Regions from separate parts of the Homo sapiens genome. Here region 2 is linked to region 1. The links are contacts of gene promoters, found by promoter capture Hi-C in blood cells and fetal thymus (Javierre and others, 2016). All regions are on one chromosome and are shown on one strand. Each heading gives the region's core, a stretch centred on a gene start or on the middle of the fragment in contact. The rest is flanking DNA. Distances are from core to core; before and after follow the strand shown.

What was found. Contacts are between HindIII fragments. The CHiCAGO score rates a contact against its expected background, and 5 or more counts as called.
Region 2: a contact is called between the fragment with the promoter of GPHA2 here and a fragment that was not itself captured in region 1, in 1 of 17 cell types (M0 macrophages). The highest score is 5.6, in M0 macrophages.

The regions. Positions count from the first base shown.
Region 1 is chr11:65,116,989-65,119,688 of GRCh38, reverse strand. ZNHIT2 (zinc finger HIT-type containing 2) reads left to right here and starts at 1,988. Exons shown (of 1, transcript NM_014205.4): 1 at 1,988-2,700. The coding sequence starts at 2,036. RefSeq lists enhancers at 1,738-2,032, 2,025-2,568. The HindIII fragment of the contact is 956 bases long and covers 963-1,918 here.
Region 2 is chr11:64,934,132-64,937,207 of GRCh38, reverse strand. It overlaps GPHA2 (glycoprotein hormone subunit alpha 2), which reads left to right and starts at 1,315. Exons shown (of 4, transcript NM_130769.4): 1 at 1,315-1,374; 2 at 1,748-1,850; 3 at 2,033-2,217; 4 at 2,334-2,737. The coding sequence starts at 1,748. The coding sequence ends at 2,435. It overlaps PPP2R5B (protein phosphatase 2 regulatory subunit B'beta), which reads right to left. Exons shown (of 14, transcript NM_006244.4): 14 at 2,733-3,076. The HindIII fragment of the contact is 3,228 bases long and covers 1-3,076 here.

The DNA.
Region 1 (2,700 bases), core at 191-2,690:
TAGCATCCCAGAGAGGGCCTCTTTTTTTGTTTTTCTTTTTTCTTTATTTTATTTTATTGAGACAGAGTCTCGCACTGTCGCCAGGCTGGAGTGCAGTGGCACAATCCGAGCTCACTGCAACCTCAGCCTCCCGGGTTCACGCCATTCTCCTGCCTCAGCCCCCTGAGTAGCTGGGACTACAGGCATGTGCCACCACGCCCAGCTAATTTTTGTATTTTTAGTAGACATGGGGTTTCCCCATGTTGGCCAGGATGGTCTCGATCTCTTGACCTCGTGATCGCCCACCTCGGCCTCCCAAAGTACTGGGATTACAGCCATGAGCCACAGTGCCCGGCCTTTTCTTTTTTGTTTTTGAGACAAGGTCTCTCTCATCCAGGCTGGAGTGCAGTTGCACAATCATGGCTCACTGCAGCCGCCAACTCCTGGGCCCAGGTGATCCTACTCAGCCTCCAAAGTAGCTGAGGACTACAGGCATGCACCGCCACACCTGGCTAATTTTTTGTACTTTTTTGTAGAGACAGGGTTTTGCTATGTTGCCCAGGCTGGTCTTGAACTGGGCTCAAGTGATCCGCCCACCTTGGCCTCCCAAAGTGCTGAGATTACAGGTGTCAGCCGCTGTGCCCAGCCGAGAGGTCCTGTTTAAATGACGTGAGTGAGACCTGAGATGAACCAGTCAAGTGATCAGGTAGGGGAATATTTCAAGCCTAGAGGACTGTGTGAAGATGGGGAAGAGGTGATGTCTAGGGCTGGGGGCGGGCAGATCCTGCAAGGCCTTGTCAGCCATAGAGAGGAGTTTGGGTTTGAGTCCAAGTGCAATGGAGGGTCGCAGAAGGGTTTTGAGTAACAGATGGATCTCATCTGACTTGTGATCTAATTTCTCTGGCAGGTTTTTCTGGAGGGCTGGCAAGAAAGTTAGGAAAAACACTTAATGTGTTGTCATCCACATGAGGGGTCAGGAAGCTTAGACCACCAGTAGTAGCAGGGATGCAAAGAACACTCACAGTTTGGTTCATCACACCCCCCACTCCACCACAAGAGTGAGCTCTATTAGAACAGGGACCCCCGGCTCCCTTTGATGTGCATTGTGTTCTTGGCACCTAGAATGGGGCCTGCACTTAATAAGATGGATGAATAGTGGTATTTAATGAGAAGATACTTAATGAAAAGAAGAGGCAGTTTTGGAGGAAAAAAATCATAGGAGCTCAGATATTTCTTAAATGCTGCTTTCTATTTATCTTTTTGAGGTGGAGTTTCTCTCTGTGGCCCAGGCTCGCAGGCTGGAGAGCGGTGGCGCGATCTCGGCTAACTGCAGCCTCCACCTCCCGGGTTCAAGCGATTCCCCTGCCTCAGCCTCAGGAGTAGCTGGGACTACAAGCACCCGTCCCCCACGCCCGGCTAATTTTGTATTCTTAGTAGAGACGGGGTTTCTCCATGTTGGTCAGGCTGGTCTCAAACTCCTGACCTCAGGTCATCTGCCCGCCTCGGCCTCCCAAAATGCTGGGATTACCGGCGTGACCCACCGTACCTGGCCCTAACTGTCCTTTTATTTGTCTGTGTCCCCTAGTGCATTTTATTTGTCTGTGTCCAGCGCAGGGATGCATCGCCTCCCGTAGGCTTGGCACAATTAGTGGCCCAGAGTAGGTGCCTAGTAAAGATGGATTTATGCCACAGCACATTGTAGTGCTAAAAAGAGGGTTTTCTCTTTAGATGATCGGGCCACGTTTTGGTGTGACCACTAGGGGGAGACGTGGCACCGGCGAAGCGCTCGCCAGACCCATTTTTTCGCTCCTTGCGTCATCGCATAGGGCGGGGCTCGTACCTGACGCCCGGCTTCTGGGCCTGCTCTCGCCCTACTAGGGAAAGGGGTGGGGCTTGGCTTTCGGGCGTGGGCGGAAATTGCCGAGAATCCTCGGAAGCTTTGCGAAAACACAGCGCGCCGTCGGCCGCGCTGCGAACCGGAAGTAATCGAAGAAGCCCCGGAAGTTTCGAACTACCACCGGCGTGCGTTCGCAGGTAGATCGCGGTGCCAGTTGCCATGGAGCCGGCCGGGCCCTGTGGCTTCTGCCCGGCGGGGGAGGTCCAGCCAGCGCGTTACACCTGCCCTCGCTGTAATGCGCCCTACTGCTCGCTGCGCTGCTACCGGACGCATGGCACCTGCGCAGAAAACTTCTACCGTGACCAGGTGCTGGGAGAGCTCCGCGGTTGCAGCGCTCCTCCCAGCCGCCTAGCAAGCGCCCTACGCCGGCTGCGTCAGCAACGCGAGACCGAGGACGAGCCTGGGGAAGCAGGCCTCAGCTCCGGCCCGGCGCCCGGCGGCCTATCGGGACTCTGGGAGCGGCTGGCGCCGGGCGAAAAAGCTGCCTTCGAGCGGCTGCTGAGCCGCGGTGAGGCCGGGCGGCTGCTGCCTCCATGGCGGCCGTGGTGGTGGAACCGCGGAGCCGGACCGCAGCTTCTGGAGGAGCTGGATAATGCCCCGGGTAGTGACGCCGCGGAGCTGGAGCTCGCCCCTGCGAGGACCCCGCCGGATTCTGTGAAAGATGCCTCCGCCGCGGAGCCCGCGGCCGCCGAGCGGGTTCTTGGAGATGTCCCGGGGGCCTGCACGCCCGTCGTACCCACCCGCATCCCCGCGATAGTCAGCCTGAGCCGCGGCCCAGTCTCGCCGCTCGTGCGCTTCCAGCTGCCCAATGTGCTGTTCGCCTA
Region 2 (3,076 bases), core at 66-2,565, 180 kb after region 1:
CTAGCAGTCTGTGACTGGCCCTGCTCTTTCTGAGCAGATCAGTGAGGCAATGACCCCAAAGCGGGGCTGCCCAGAATCACCACAGGCTTCCTTTGGCTCTCCACCTTGCCCCAACCCCTCTGGCCACTGCTGCCTGGGGGTCTTTCTCCAGCTTGCCACATTCTTGCTCAAGTGTAGTTTAGCACCATGGATGGACAGCAGATTTGAATTTGAAATCAGCCCTAACATTAACTAGCTGGGTGACTTTTAGTAACTTTCTTTCTTTGAGCCTTAGTTGCCTCATCTATAAAACCAGAGTTGGACAAATAGATCAGCTTTGCTGGGGTTGATAACTTCAGGCCCTTTCAGGAGTCAGGTCCCTGTTATTCCAGGGCTAGGGGAGCACTCCAGCTCAGAACGTTACTCTGTAGCACAGGATGCGAATCATCCACTGATACCGTGGCCATGCAACTCTGAAACAGACAGCAACCCCCAAACCCCCGGCCCTGCCACCAAGCACATCTCAGGAGACCTCCACTGGTATAATTTCCCTTGTCCCTAAGAATCTCCTTCCCCAATCCCTTTCCTTTGCAGTTAGAAAAAGGCAAGCAGGACTGAGTTTAGTGGTTTTAAAATTAGGGGTGTGGCCAGGCACAGTGTCTCATGCCTGTAATTCTAGCACTTTGGGAGGCCTAAGCAGGCGGATCACTTGAGCTTAGCAGTTCAAGACCACCATGGGCAACATGGCAAAATCCTGTCTCTACAAAAAAATACAAAAGTTAGCTGGTCATAGTGGTGTGCCTGTGGTCCCAGCTACTCAGGAGGCTAAGGGGGAGGATGGCTTGAGTCTGGGAGGCTGGGAGGTGGAGGTTGCAGTGAGCCGAGATAACACCACCACACTCCAGCCTAGGTGACAGAGCCAGACCCTCTCAAAATAATAGTAATAAATAATAATAAAGTTAGGGGTGATCAGGCCCTGAACAGGGAAATGTTCTGTCCAAGGTCACAGAGCAAAGAGAACCCAGGTGTCCACAACTCAGCCAAGAGTCTTGACCCCTGTGTCGTCAGCTGCACACACGCTGCACACTCCACCAGCTCCTAGGCTTCTCTCCACATCTGACTTATCGAGGCCTGGGCTGTGGGTAGCTTTTTGGACAGAAAGAAGCAGAAAGCAGCAGGAGCTGCTCTCCGAGGACCGCACCTCAAAGAGCAAGATCCCCCAGGTGGGATCGCTCTGAGGCTTCAGGCAGGGGAGGCTGGTTTGAAAGCCGATCTCCAAGAGGGCGTGGCTCCAAAATGCTGGCAAATAAAAGCCTGGAGAGCCAGCACCAAGCTGGAGACCAGCAGGAGGCACAGGAAAACTGCAAGCCGCTCTGTTCCTGGGCCTCGGAAGTGGTGAGCTCGCTGAGGCAGGAGGAGCTCTGGGGAGGGTCTGGGAATGTGGACGAGGGCCCTGCAGGCCAAGATGGGGCAGATGGAGGGAGGAAGATGTTTGCGCTCCAGATGGCGAAGAAAATTCCAGGGAAGGGAGAATCACTGCACAGAGGGCTGACACACAGGTCCTTTCCAGAGACAGCTGCTCACACTCACACCCATACACACACACACACACACACAAAGGCAGATACAGGGAAAAGGCAGCACCATTCAGGCACACCTCACCTGTCAGACCAGCCAGCCCTGGCTCACTCACCTGGAATGCAGTATTTAAAGAACTCGCCATCCCACCTGCACACCCACGTAGAGACATCTCCCCACTGTGTTTCAGATGCCTATGGCGTCCCCTCAAACCCTGGTCCTCTATCTGCTGGTCCTGGCAGTCACTGAAGCCTGGGGCCAGGAGGCAGTCATCCCAGGCTGCCACTTGCACCGTGAGTACCTCTGGGACCGGAGGGCTAGGAGCAGTGGAGGTTCTGGGTGGGAGCAAAGAGCTGAGTGGACGGTGGGGCAGGCAGCACCCTAAAGGGCCCCACACTGAGGCACAGGCAACGGGAGCTGGGGCGAGGCAAACCTTGGCAGAGGCGCCGTCTACTGCTTGCCTATCTCCTTCTAGCCTTCAATGTGACAGTGCGAAGTGACCGCCAAGGCACCTGCCAGGGCTCCCACGTGGCACAGGCCTGTGTGGGCCACTGTGAGTCCAGCGCCTTCCCTTCTCGGTACTCTGTGCTGGTGGCCAGTGGTTACCGACACAACATCACCTCCGTCTCTCAGTGCTGCACCATCAGTGGCCTGAAGAAGGTGAGGAGGGCCCGGGCCCGGTGGATGGACGCTGGGGTCGCGGGAAGACCAGAGAGATGGAGATCCTAGACAGCCCTGAGAAAGGGGACTGCAGCACGGACTCCCCTCTCCCGCAGGTCAAAGTACAGCTGCAGTGTGTGGGGAGCCGGAGGGAGGAGCTCGAGATCTTCACGGCCAGGGCCTGCCAGTGTGACATGTGTCGCCTCTCTCGCTACTAGCCCATCCTCTCCCCTCCTTCCTCCCCTGGGTCACAGGGCTTGACGTTCTGGTGGGGGAAACCTGTGTTCAAGATTCAAAAACTGGAAGGAGCTCCAGCCCTGATGGTTACTTGCTATGGAATTTTTTTAAATAAGGGGAGGGTTGTTCCAGCTTTGATCCTTTGTAAGATTTTGTGACTGTCACCTGAGAAGAGGGGAGTTTCTGCTTCTTCCCTGCCTCTGCCTGGCCCTTCTAAACCAATCTTTCATCATTTTACTTCCCTCTTTGCCCTTACCCCTAAATAAAGCAAGCAGTTCTTGAATTTCTCTCTTTATTAAGTCTACCCCCAGCCACGGAAAGAGGAGTAGACCATGATTACTGTGAACCCCCCCTTACCCCAGGACACTGTGAATCTCTTCTTGCCTGTGCCCTCCCCCTCCCCCTGCCCAATAAATAAAAAGGGGACAAGGAAGTACACAGCGAGGGAAGGGAGGAGTGTGCACCCAGGACAGTGTCTGTGTAGAGGGTGAGCTGGGCGAGAATAAATAGACCATGGACCCCATGGTGGGGATAAGGAAGGACCTCGCATTGGCCAAGGCAGGGGCAGGCGAGGCGCTGAGTGCCCTTGCCCAAGGCCAGGAGCAGAGGGTGGGAGCCCGCC